Regions from separate parts of the Homo sapiens genome. Here region 1 is linked to region 2. The links are contacts of gene promoters, found by promoter capture Hi-C in human tissues and cell types (Jung and others, 2019). All regions are on one chromosome and are shown on one strand. The core of a region is centred on a gene start or on the middle of the fragment in contact, and the rest is flanking DNA. Distances in the headings are between cores, read along the strand shown.

Region 1 (6,828 bases), core at 655-3,154, 240 kb after region 2:
GGCTCCACTTGCTCCACTCCCTTGCCTGCTTCTGTTCCCATCTCTCTTCTTGGTTATCTTCATCCTGGAGGGTGGGGGAGGCGCTGTCTCATTGTGGTTCGAAAGATTTGATTTGAGCATCAGCAATGTGCCCAAGGTGGTGGTAGGTGCTGCGGGAGCCTGACTCCACTCCTTGTCCCTAAAAAGGTTGTGGTCTGACTACAGAGTGGGGGTGCCGCTTCTGGGGTGTCATGTCTGGGTTTTGCTAAATAATCGTGTTTGCAGAGGTTTGAGCTCCTGAGCTGGCACGCCTGCAGTGTGTGCAGGGAGAGAGGTGTAGATGGATGTCCGAGGACATTAGCAGGGCCCTGAGTGGGAGCCACTGTGCCACGGATGGCTATGTGGGGACACCTCCTCGGGGAACAGTTGGGGCTGTGGCCTTCTGCAGGTGCCTGCCTGGGAAAGGAGGTACATCCTCAGCAGGCCTTCCTTGCTTTCTTTTCAGGCCTGACCTCACGTTCGCTCAGGGGGCCTGTCTTGGCAGGAGGCACCATCTGAAGCTCCCTCGGTGCCTCTGGGACCTGAGCCCTGCTGATGGGCAGCCAGGGGTGACCAGGGCAGAACCTGCTGAAGGCTTCATGGGAGACACAAAGCCTTGAGATGACAGAGTGGCGTGTTCAGACAGGGTGAGGGGAGCCAGGGAGGCCTCAAAAGTACAGACGCAGGGGGCAGGGGGACCAGATGTTACTTGGTGCTGCCCCTGCTGAGACTGTGGTGGACACCGAGGCTCAGAGAGAGCGTGGGCCCTGCTGCGGCTCCAGGGTGAGAGCTGGGGCCTGTGGTTCTTTCCAGCACTCGGATGGCATTAAGCTGCACTATCACGAGGGGTTTTGATGAAGGACATCGCACATCGGGGCATGCCTGCCTGATGGTGTGAGCGTGTGGGCTGTGGGAGAATGGCTGGTGGAGGGAGCTGTCCGCTGAAGGGAAAGCCCCATGTACCTGCAGCACAGCCAGCTCCTCTGTGTATGTGGGATCCAGGAGGAAACCGCCACGCAGCCCTATTCTGTTCTCCCTCCCTGCCGAGAGGAGGATGTGTGGAAGGCGGGATGCTTGGTGGCCTTCAATACCTGGAGACCAGAACGAAAGGCTGTGGCCACCCCCAGGCCTCCCATCGAGCACCTGCTGGTCTAGAATGGCCTTTTGTGACCCCACTTCACCTTCTTAGCAATTGCACGAGAGGACAGCTGCATGGGTCCCAGTCAGAACTGCGCGATACCCCACCCCAGAGGACAGGGCAGCCCGGGGTGGCACGCGACAGATGTGTGGGTGGGCACTTGGGTGGGCCAAGGGTCTGACAGTGATGCCCCCTTGGCCTGACTCCAGTTAGCTTCTGGCCAGACTTGCTGAGACAGCAGTGGGACCCTGAGCCAGACCCATCTTCACATTTTAGTCTCCCAACCTAGCAGGCTGAGCAGAGATGACACTTCTTCGGAAACGTGTGGTTAGGGAAGGTCGTTTTCTCAAGCAAAGCTGATGGCGCTAAATCACGATGTCTTTTGGCTACAGAAGAAAGAAGTCCCAGCTGTGTGTGTTTCGGCTGTGGGTGGAAAAGAAGGGAGGGTGTCCCTCTAGGGCCTGGGGAGCCCTGGTTTGTTGCTGGGAGGTCCAGAGGGGAGCCAGCACGCGGTTCCTCACCTGCGTGGAAACTGTCTTCCTTGCTGCGTCTGTCTCATTTGTGCTGCGGGATTTTAACTGATGGAGGTGGCTGAGTGAGGACAAAAAGATTTCCCAAAAGAAGGTTTTATGGCTTACATTTCCCAAGAGCAGGGGGCATGAGCCCTGGGGCCACAGGGGAAGCCCCAGGGTTTGGTCAGGAGGCAGGAGGTGGGAGGAAACTGAGGCCAGACCCTTTCTGGGGGTTTCTGTGAGAGAGGCAGGGCCAGGCCAGGTGAGTCACTGCAGCAGGCCTGGGGCTGTAGGGGAGGTCTTTGCTTGCCTGGCACCTGGTCCTGGGGCGCGTTAGGGCAGGGGTGGTTCATATTGGCTGGGTGAACAGGAGTTGAAAAAGGGGTGGTTGGCTTGTGCATGCGAGTGCATGGTAAATGGCCCAAGGAAGCCACTTACTGTCTTTGGGAACTAGCCAGCTCTGGAAGGGGCGGTCTCTCCCAGTGTCTGCGAGGCTCCCCTAGATGTCAAAACGTCCTAAGACAGAAAATAGAAGACATGATTAGTCCAGTTTGCTTATCAGAAAGGCCGTTCCTCTGTGTGGATGGAGGCGGCAGGCTGGCAAGAGCCAGAGAGGGAGATGACATGTTTGTAGAAGGAAGATCAGCCCGGTGCTCAGGTGTGGCCACCACCTTTTCCCACAGGGAGTCAGTTTCCGAGTGTGGGGAACATCAGAAGGAGACCCTCAGAGTTCAACAATGCTATTTAGGTCTAATGCCCCACATGGCTCGTGCAGTGATTAAAAACAATTCCAGAGCACAGAGGACAGAGTCTGCGCTCTCCTCTGTGTGGTGTTTGAACCTCTGTTTTACAGGAAAATGGACTTTGAGTTAAAAACCTTGCCCCTGGGGATTTATCCAGAGGGAAGAGTAAAGTGAAACTGTGATCATAAAGATGTCCAACTTGGCACTATTTAGGATAGTGAAAGGTTGGAGCAAACTGTGTTTTCCAGAATAGAGGGACGAAAGAGTATGGTAATCTTGGCGTCCTCACAAAATACCAGACAGTTGTTGGCAGGCACAGCTGTGCAGGCTGCTGGCCGTGTGGGAAATATCTGCCTCTGTTGTGAGAGCCTCCCTGTGCCTGGCCCCTCAGCTGCTAGGAGTCCCTGCTGTCCCGGGAAGATTCTCCTTTTCCACCTTTGCTTGTTCTCTGTAAAGAACCTCAGCCCTTAAGCCCCCTGGACTTACCTGGGTGGCAGCAGCAGTCCTGCACCCTGCAACGCTGTAGAAATGGGCACAGTGTCTTTCGGTTCCTGCTCCTCTTCCTTTGCCTCCACCTGGGGTCCCTGCTCCTCTCCCTGTGCCTCCCCCTGGGGTCCCTGCTCCTCTCCCTGTGCCTCCGCCTGGGGTCCCTGCTCCTCTCCCTGTGCCTCCGCCTGGGGTCCCTGCTCCTCTCCCTGTGCCTCCGCCTGGGGTCCCTGCTCCTCTTCCTGTGCCTCCACCTGCTGTTCCGACCTGGTTACCCAGTGAGGGAAATGGGGAAAGAAACCTCTCCTACCAGAGCAGGGATTCCTGGTGGCAAGAACGTCCTAAAGCTTTGCAAAGCTCTGGTGTTTGACGTTGAGGAAGTGGATTCATGGAAACTGCTGGAACCCTTTGAGGACTTGGATTGAGTTTATTCATCCAGGGAACAGGATTGTGTTCAGCATGCTCATTTCTATAAATCCTTCCATCTCGGCCAAAGATGGTCTCATCATCTTAGAGCAATGACAGCCCTTTCTCGTGGAATGGGCACGTTTGCTCTGTTCACTGCAGCCCCTGGAAACAGCCACATGATGCACATGGATGCTCACTGGGTGAGGACGAAGATGATACAAGAGGAGGAACGAGGCTTGTTTTCCCCAGAATGTCTTTTAAGTCCTAGGAAAAGGGCTGTGACATTTTGCTTTGGCTTTAAAGCCAGGTCTGAGAACATTTTTAGGCATGTTATTTAAATTGCAGATTTTAAGACCTTATCTATAGGATATCAGATTCAGTAGGAATCTGTCTTTTTAGCTGTTTTCCCAAATGAGTCTTCTGCATGCCACGCTGGTAAAACTCTGCTTGAACCATGAGGAGTCTCTAAGACCCAACTGTAGCATAAGAGAGCATTTGTACAGTTAACATCCGGTTTTTAATCTCTGAGCTTCCTGGCAGCCAGGGCAAGAAGAGAAAGATGGAATAACAGAATTCTTTTGTCTAATATCAGTTCATTTGGAAAGCAGACTTTTCTTGGTGCTCTCATCTAGGAAGAATTTTTTCATGCGACACGGTGTTTGCAGGTGGGGTTTTGCAAAAAACAAAATGGTTTCAAATATCTTTGACCTCAGTGAAAGCTGAAAACACAGTGAATAGGCTTTGAGGTGGACGTTAAGCCAGAGTCGTTCCAGTGTGTTCCCATCTCATATTTTGAAGTGATTCAGGCATGCAACTTAAAGAACCATGCACAGAGGAGATCTGGACAACTGCAAAGCTTTTCTCAAAAGAAGTGAAAAAAAGAATGAAAGAGAATTGACTCACCATACATCATGTGATTCCATTTATATGAAATGCCTCAAAGTGGCCAAGTTATATATAGAGAAAATAATTAGTGGTTGGGGAGAGACTGAGGGAGAGGATGGGGGAGCTTGAGGAGTGATGGCTAAGGGATACAGGTTAATTTTTTTTTTTTTTTTTTGCAAATGCTCAAAAATGGATTGTGGTGATAGATACCCTACTCTGTGAACTCACTAAAACCCACTGAATTATACATTTTATTTATTGTATTTATTTATTTTTTTTTGAGACAGGATCTTGCTTTGTTGCCCAGGCTGGAGGGCAGTGGCACAACCGTGGCTCACTGCAGCTTTGACCTCCCTAGCTGAAGTGATTCTCTCGCCTCAGCCCCCCAGGTAGCTGGGATTACAGGCACACACTACCATGCCTGGCTAATTTTTATGTTTTTGTAGAGATGGGGTTTCTCCATGTTGCCTGGGCTGGTCTTGAACACCTGAGCTCAAGCGATCTGACCTCCTCGGCCTCCCAAAAGGCTGGGAGCACTGAGTTACATGCTTTAAATGAGTGAATTCGATGATGTGTAAATTTTAAAATCTCAATGTTTTTTTCCAAAAAAAAAAAAAAAAAAAAAGGAAATTGACCAATAGGACACAGTGTGCTGGACTGAGTCCAGGGTTGGGTGCCAGGGAATATGGAGTAGCCACGGGGCCTGTGGGTGTCTCAGGGAGCTGTCATCGTGAACTTGGTAAGGGGAGCAATTAGGGCTGCAGCAGCCCTGGGGGACCCCCCTGAAACAGGACCCTGAGGGGTCAAATGGCAGGATCCTGTCAGCGGTGCAGATGGACTGAACTGGAATACACCCCTGCCCTCTCCTCATGCGTCTGTCTTGGACCTGTTATGTTTCCCCAAATCCGTGAGGATGAGGGGAGTGCCGGCGCTGCATCACACTCTCTTCACTGCCCCCAAGATGTTTTTCTCTTCAGTCCTGAGGCTTCCGGGCTCATTCTTGGAGCAGGGAGAGTGCTGTCCAGGTGTGGAGTGTGTTTTATTTAGGACAATGGTGCTCTCTGTCCCCAGTTCCTTCAGCAGACGCCTGGGTCTCTTGGTATCCACTGAGCCCCAGGTCAAGTGGGGGGAAGTGGGTGGATGGAGTGATCTGGTCTCCAGCTGCAGTGGATTTCCTGACACTTGTGGAACAGTCTGCCAGTAGGGAAGAAGTGAGATGAGTGTGAACAGAAACAAAAGCACATTACATGAATATAAATATGTATCTGGGCTGGGCATGGTGGCTCACACCTGTAATCCCAGCACTTTGGGAGGCCGAGGTGGGTGGATCGCAAGGTCAGGAGATTTGAGACCATCCTGGCTAACACAGTGAAACCCCGTCTCTACTAAAAATACAAAAAAATTAGCCGGGCGTGGTGGTGGGCTTCTGTAGTCCCAGCTACTCGGGAGGCTGAGGCAGGAGAATGGCATGAACCTGGGAGGCAGAGCTTGCAGTGAGCCAAGATCACACTATTGCACTCCAGCCTGGGCGACAGAGAGAGACTCTGTTTCAAAAAATAAATAAATATATATATATATATATATATATATATATATATATATATATACCTGTGGATTTCCAATGAAGAGGACCAGGTGGCAAGGGCTGAGACCAGGTATGCACCACTAAATACTGGGGATGGTTTTGCAGCCCCTGGAGACCCCTTGGGACTGAGGCTGCCTTCAGAAGTTCCCTTGCAGATGATCGAAAGCTTCTGTTCTTCACATTTTGGGGTCACGGACTCGTTTGAGCATCTGATGAGTCTTGTGAAGAATGGATGCCTCAGCACACAACCCACGTCCTGTGTCGAATCCTCGGTGGTTTATTGCCACTCCCAGAGATACCCCACTGGGCGCCAGGCATCTGATGAGTCTTGTGAAGAATGGACACGTCCTGCTGTCCCAGAGAGCCCCCACGGGGTGCCAGGCAGGCCCCTGGGATGTAGTCTGGCAGAGACCCCCCAGTATATCTCTCTAGGCAGCTCACGGCAGGTGCTCTGTTGATGGGATGGGACAAAGACCCTCACCTCCAGAGCAGATGTGCTGTTTGGTAGTCCAGGGACACGCAGTATGGAGGGTCTCCTGCAGGAGCACCCAGCACATTGACACCAACACAGGGTTCCTGTCTGCTGTGTGTTCTGCCACAAGGGATGGCTGCTGCCTGGCTTTGCAGCTCTCCCAGAAGTTCACTGAGTCAAGAGTGAGGAGCTGGGTCTGGGTATGACCATGTGTGTGCTGGTGGGAGGGGGCACCATGGCTGTTCCTGATTCTGAGAGGAGGCACGACCTATGCAAAGGGGAGCACCCAGGTGTGTCCCTGGACAGGGAAGCCTGACCCCCTCCACACCTGCTTGGCTGGGCTCCTGCGAACCGAAGCTCCCTCCTGGGTCAGCCCTGCACGTGGGTTTTCTTGAGGCAGGGCGTGGGAGGGTGTGTCTGATTGGCCTGTGTCGGGAGTGGCCCACTCACTACAAATTGTGAAGGGGATTTCTTGATGAGAACAATCATGACAGTCCTTGCAAGGCCCTGTGGTTTTCCTCAAGTCCTCACCCAGAGCGACATTTATCCTGGCCTGGGGATGGGGCTGGAGGAGCCTCCTG
Region 2 (6,876 bases), core at 2,454-4,953:
TGGACCTCTAACCAGTAAGAACAAGAGGCGGTGTGCTCAGTGAAGTGATGTCCCTCCTCTCCTGCCTCGGTTTCCTCTCTGTAAGTTGTTGGAATATTTCACAGGAGCCTGCTCAGCAGGTTGTAAGCTACTTGGAGACCTGCTCAGCTGGGCCCCTGTCCCTGCTGGATGCAAATATTCCATCCCGGGGGCCTTTAGTTAGACATCCTCCCACTTTTAAAATGAAACAGGTCCATATTTGGAGGAAAGAGAGAGGTGGATGTAACATTTATAGGAGAGAGAGACTAGGACGAAGAAAGAAAAGAAGACGTAAACTCTAAGCATCTGGGCAACATCAGGCCAGGGGGACTGGGCTGTCACCACTGCAGCTCCTCCAGGGCAAGCAGCAGACAGGACATGAGGATCAGGCCCCCGGACCAGCCCAGGAGAGGTCAGGCTCACGAGACGATCAGGCCTTGAGTCCAGCCCAGGAGAAGATCCGGCCACGGGGCCAGGAGAGGATCGAAGCTTTGTGATATCAGACAGCCCAGAACCCTAGATCCCTTGGCACTTAGGTGAAGAATTTCTTAAAGAATCAATCAAATGAAGACAAATTAAAGAACAAAGTAAACATTCTTGGATATTATGGGAGAAACAGCCCTATTTGAAGGTGGTATTCTAAGGAGAGAAATCAATCTAATGAAGGAAAGAAACTTGGAAGGACTTAGAGAAAGATGCCTCTGGACTCACACAAAACCTCCTAAGAGAAGACAGTTCCTGCTTACTCTAAGTCCAGAAGCAAGAACACACACTAAGGCAGGGGACAAAGACTGAAGAGGAACTTCCAGATCCCACAACGGGTCAGAGGCCTAAAGACCAACGGGAAACTAGCAGAGCACAGATGGCAGCTGACATCCAAAATGAGAAAGGACTATCGCTTACAAGAGACTTACAACGTGGCTACTCATTGTTTTGTTTTCATTTTTGTTTTTGTTTTTGAAGGGACAAGAAGGGAAATAAGCAATCAGTTTTCCTGATTTTTACAAAAAGGCATATAAGAAACGATAACCTATGCTTGCTTGTGGAAAGATTCTGAGATCACGGAATGAAAACCTGGGAATATGTCTTGGTCCTTCAGCCTGCTATAACAAAACACCTTGGACTGGGTAATTAATAAACAGCAGAAATGTATTGCTCACAGTTCTGGAGGCTGGGAAGCCCACGATCAAGGTGCTGGCAGATTTGGTATCTGGTAAGGACTGGTTGTCTCCTTCTCTGTGTCCTCACATGGTAGAAGGGGCCAACAAGCTCCTTTGGGCCTCTCTTGTAAGAGCACTAATCCCATTCATGCAGGCTCCACTCTCATGCCCTCATGACCCAATCACCTGCCAAAGGCCTCATCTCTTAATTCCATCATCTGGGGGTTAGGTTTCAACATATGAATTTTGTGGGGACGCAAACATTCAGACCACAGCAAAAGGGCAGTGGTAACACAGAAGCAGCCCAACTTTGAAACTGGCCTTCATCTGGTAAAAGTCAGTTCTTTTAATTACTCAACATGGGAATCTAGACTTATTCAGCCTCCCTGGGCCTGCCCTTGCTCAGGTGTTCAATGGCATTAACCAGGCCCAACAGTGGGTGTGGCGTGTCCACAGCTCTCAGGACTGTCCCTGCTCCTTCCTTGCCTTCTCAGCTGGGGAAAACTGATGCTGGTATCGCTAGCTGACGACCCCAGGGTGTCTGTGTCTGTTCTCACCATATTTCCAGCTCTGGTCCAAGCCTGTATCTTGCTCCTCTGTTTTTGGCAATTTCAATACCTGTAAGTACAGAGAGAAAAAGAAAATGGAGCAATTTCAGCACCTATACACTCAAAGACAGATGAAACAACCTGCTGCAGTAGGTAGGATAAAAAAAAAAACAAACAACAAACAAAAATGCTCTGTGCCTTCCCAGACGGGATGCAGTCAGGCTTCCTGTTGACAGCATGGCAGCAGAGGGCAGCATACACCTGTATACACCTGTATACACGAGTACGCCTGCACCTGCTTATACTTGCATATACCTGCTTATATCTGCAGGAAATGAGAAACAGGGAGGGCTTGCAGGTCTGACCCTTAGCACCATGGAGGAGGCGGAGGAAGAGGAAGAAGTCAGACCCTGGTAGTTTATTAACAAGGAAATGCCCAACACCATCTAGAGGAAAAAGGACTTAGAGGATTACGATCCAGCAGTGGTGCCACTGTCAGGCACCATCGGCTTACTGGTCTTGGGCAGCAGCTTCCAACAAGCACCTAGGGAGGAGAGGCTGGCAGAGTGGAAACTTAGTTTTGGCCAAGCCTTCTTCAGTTCAACTAGATTTGCTCTGAGCAAATGAGGTGAAAGCAGGTTGATATTTAAAAAATAAAAATAAAAAACCACTGGCTGCGGTGGCTCATGCCTGGAATCCCAGCACTTTGGGAGGCCAAGGCAGGTGGATCACTTGAGGTCAGGAGTTCGAGGCCAGCATGGCCACCATGGTGAAACCTTGTCTCTACTAAAAATACAGAAATTGGCCATGCATGGTGGCAGACGCCTGTAATCCCAGCTACTCAGGAGGCTGAGGCAGGAGAATCGCTTGAGCCCAGGAGGCAGAGACTGCAGTGAGCCAAGATGACACCACTGCACTCCAGCCAGGGCAACAGAGTGACAGTCCATGTCAAATAATAATAATCATAATAATAATCCAGGGCACATACTGATTAGATGCCATCTCTTGAAACATTCTGTTTCTATTGTTCCTGGCAAAGGCTCTTGCAGTCAGCAGACCAGTGCAAGACAAGCTGCAACCTGACTACACCTGCAGGCTTGCCCATTTAGGTGCAGGTGTAATAGTTTAACTTTTCATCCTCCACGGTGCGTCCATATGAACGAAAATTAGATGGTGACCTTTCAACAACCACACCCTATCTTCGAGGCCACCACGCCCGGCTGATTTTTGTATTTTTAGTAGAGACGGTGTTTCACCATGATGGCCAGGCTGGTCTTGAACTCCTGACCTCAGGTGACTTCCACCCCCTCCGGCCCCCCCAAAATGCTGGGATGACAGGCGTCTTTTTCTACTTCCCTTTCTGGGACGCCTTCTCCCACCAGGAAGGCCCACGGGGACCAGAGACCATCAATCTCTGGCCTCTGCACACCATCCCCGCCAGTGCGCAGCCATTCTGTTCAACTTAGATATCTCCGAGAATGGGCAGCTCAGTCCCAACCACGGGACCCCAGAGATATCAGAACACGGGTCCATCCCCAGGCCTCCCGCCTAAGCCGCCAGACTTTTCTTAACCGTGCCTTGTATATCGCTCGTCCCCGGGAACTATAAACACTCACTTCCCGACGAGGACCTGAGCACGTACCACTGGCGGGGTCATTGCCCATTATCTCACCTGATCCCATGCCCAGGGCCGAGAGTTTCCCAGGGCAAGGCTGTGAGCACGCCACGGGCAAGCCTGGGCCCAGCCACGGTGCCCGTGCGCCACCCCAAACCGGTGCCCCCGCCGCCCCAGACTCACTCTTTAAAATTCTTTGCAAATTGCCCTCGAAGTCCAGGGCCCACTGGTTGAGTGCGCAGGTGGCCACGGTCACCTTCCGGCCCATCCTGGCCGCAGTCGCTTGGGCAGGAGGCCAGCGGGGGACAGCAAGACCAGGGTCCCAGCGAGGTAGGCGGCTGGGACGCCGGACCTTCCGGGTTGCCCGGCCCCGCCCCCTCCCCGCCCATCCGTTGAGGCTCCGGCCAAGGAGGACTGCGGCGTCAGGCCCTGCCTACGGATCGCCCCGCCCCGTCTGAGGAGCTCACGACCGCGCCTGCGCAGCGAGGTGGCCTCAGCGTTCACGGCACCGCGAAGGGCCCCGCCCCCGCCCCGGCTCCACCCACGTCCCAGGCCCCGGCCCCGGCCCGGCCCTTGCGGGCAAACCCGTTCAGGTGCACAGGTGCAGGGGGCTCACCGCCCAGCTGCAGCACCCCTCTATTTTATCCCACACCGCCACCCCACATCCAGCTTAGCCATGTTTTATTTTAATACGGCATGAAACGTTCCAAATACACCAAAAGTGGAGAGTACGGTAGGAGCGCTCCATCGTGCCCGCGGGACAGCAGACGATAGCAATCGATTCTCCGTGCTGGGAATCCCGCCACCCTGGGCGGATGGCGCTGAATTCTTGGGAACCCTCTCCTGCCCCTTTCACTCCTGTACCACGTGTGTAAGTAGCTCAGGTAGCGCACTGTTTGCCTTTTCTGAAACTACAGGAACTGCACTTGAATGTGCTTCTGCAACTTGATTTTTTCCCCTGTAATATGAGATACGTTCTTTTAATTATTTTTCTGCAGTTTGGTATTCCATAGTGGCAGTAAAGCAGGTTTATTCAATAGCGGATGGGCATTGACGTTATTAGCAGCGTTTTGCCAACAGACGCACGCACACAGGCACTGCTGCAATTTCCTTTCCGGCAAGGTTTCCTTCGTGACCTCGTTCCGCCAGTTCCTGCAGCAGCTTTGCAGAGTAGTAGGGTTCGTGCTGTTTGACTTTACTAAATATTGCCAAGTCTCTTCTCCAGGGCGCTTGCACCGATTCACTACCAGCGGTTTCTCACTTTTTATTTTTTCACATTTCCTCTTTAGTCCACCCACGGTAGAATCCATTTTTCCCCCATATAAATAACTGCCTCATCATCGTTGCTTGAAGAGGCCATCCTTCCTTCTGTCATTCATGTTAGTTTAAAAACACACAATTCACAAATTTGGAAAAAGAGAAGGCTTTATTTCTTGTAAACGGTCGTAGCCTGCAAGGTGGCGGCCATCTGTCTGAGGCTGGGAATCTGTCTCCAGCCAAGGCCAGAGACAGGCACGTCCAAGGAGGAGGGGTTGGGGCAGGAGCGCTATGCTGAAGGGATTGGCTAAACATACATATTCAACAGGTAACAGGAGGAGCTATGAATATTCATGAAGGTGGTCCTGACACATGCCCTCTTATTGAGCAAAGCATGTAATATATGACCCATGTTCACTTTGGGGTGGAGACTTAACATTTACACATCTTACAATTAGGGCCTTTATGGCAAAACGTCTTTTCAGGACACAAAGGCATGCAGGTGCATCATCTCTCTCTATTAACGGGTCAGCTGGTCGGCATGGTCAGCTGGTCGGTGGTCTCTTATTAGGAGAAAGTCACTGAAATCAGTCTCTTGTCCAATCACAGCTGCTATGGCTGGTGAAACAGAGTCAGTTAGTTGGCACCTAGTGGAGCTGCAATTGTTTTAATATTCCCTATCCCAAGGCTAGTGTGTGTTTGGCTAATAGAGAAACAGAAAGCCTTGTGGCTCTTAGAATATAGTTTATTCTCTAAGTGTGGGTTGCCTGACTTACCCTCGCCTAGCATGGCTTTGGGTCCTGTTTATAATTTGGTATCTTATTGCCACAGAGTCCGTTCTGTCAGTCTTACGATCTCTGTTTTAACATGAATGCCGGCCAGTTGTGGTGTCCAAACTCTGAAACAGGGGGCTATTACCAGGCGCATCTGACCTCCCATCCCATCATGTCTGGGAATTCAGTGTTGAGGTTTTTCTGGTGTCCCCTTGGTCAGGAGAAGGTCCCTTTGGTCAATGGGGGGCTTAGGATTTTATTTTTACCTTATGTACATATACCCGTTTTCACATTTTGAATCACTTTTTTTCCTGTCTATAAAGTAGTGCTTGTTCATGACAATTTGGAAACTCCACAAAAGCACCAGAATGTTATACATGCTAACTTATTTAATCCTCACAGTAGTTTTCATGCTTCTGAAATCCACACGATCTGCTCAAATTATCTCCTGCCAACAATGGCTGATGCCAGGCCTGGGCAGAGAAGGGGAGGATCCTTGAACATCTGGTTGTCCCAGAAAATAAGTAAGTACTCAAAGGATGGTAGATACATGTCATATGAAAAAAGAAGCCAATTTGAAGGGGCTCCCGTTAGCTAAATACAGGACAATACAGTAAGGATCATAACTCGGTCAGCTAAATCCATTAGGGCATACTGATAAAAAATAAATCAAAGAGGAAATCCCTACAGAAGAATGCTTGCTAATAAATAATTTATTAATAAATGTTGAGGGAATGATAAAATTAGAAAATTAACACTTTGTCCCAAGAAATAAGGGATTCAGGCAAGATTCCTCATTAAATGCTAGTTCACTGGGTGAAAGGTCATTTGGGAACAGCATATTTACAGTCTCAAAGTATCACTGCACCAATTACTCATTAATAACAAAAGGAAAAATGGAGACTTCTGGCAGAAACCACGGAGCCCCACTATCAATCATGGAGCACAGTGATATGTTGTCTTAAAAAAGAAAATTTTAGGACTCTTGAAATTTATTAGGTCAACTTGGGCAACAGAGCAAGATCCTGTCTTTAAATAAATAAATAAAAATAAATAAATTTATTATGTCAAGAGGGAAGTTAAGTCCTAGAAACTGGGTCACATAGCATGTTTGTAATTTTGTCTTTTAGATTATAGGCTGTTTTTCTTTATCATTCATGTTTTATAAATGACTAGGAGAGACCACAGACCAGGCCTGCTCCCCTTTTAATTACTGATCTTTATTATAGATTGTCTCTTATTATCCCGTACTTAGACCAGACTCCTACATCTTCAGTGTAAAATGTTAAATATACCTTCCACCTAAAAAAGACCACCTCAGCTGGTCAGATTATAACTTTATGCATAAAAAGATGTTAAAATTCTGTTAAACTTCCCTAAAATTTGTCTACATAAATGATCCCAAACATCTACAGTTCAAAATACTGATTTCCATTCTTTAAAATCTGTGCTTCCCAGGCAGCCTGTCCTCAAACTTTATACACTTAAATAAACTCTCTTTAAGC

Evidence for each region. Contacts are between HindIII fragments. The study calls those that stand out against the background at their distance.
Region 1: a fragment that was not itself captured here is called in contact with the fragment with the promoter of NADSYN1 in region 2 in 1 of the 25 tissues and cell types used here (mesenchymal stem cells).

What each region holds. Positions count from the first base shown.
Region 1 is chr11:71,209,180-71,216,007 of GRCh38, reverse strand. The region is part of intron 2 of SHANK2 (SH3 and multiple ankyrin repeat domains 2); the gene reads left to right. Among named protein-coding and RNA genes, the nearest start is that of SHANK2, 40 kb to the left of the region's middle. RefSeq lists an enhancer at 592-1,173. The HindIII fragment of the contact is 3,598 bases long and covers 106-3,703 here.
Region 2 is chr11:71,450,030-71,456,905 of GRCh38, reverse strand. It overlaps NADSYN1 (NAD synthetase 1), which reads right to left and starts at 3,703. Exons shown (of 21, transcript NM_018161.5): 1 at 3,525-3,703; 2 at 1,736-1,796. The coding sequence starts at 3,609. DHCR7-DT (DHCR7 divergent transcript) reads right to left here. Exons shown (of 2, transcript NR_186309.1): 2 at 4,749-5,216. RefSeq lists enhancers at 2,546-3,045, 3,046-3,547, 4,785-4,864, 4,985-5,034 and a silencer at 3,605-3,974. The HindIII fragment of the contact is 4,997 bases long and covers 200-5,196 here.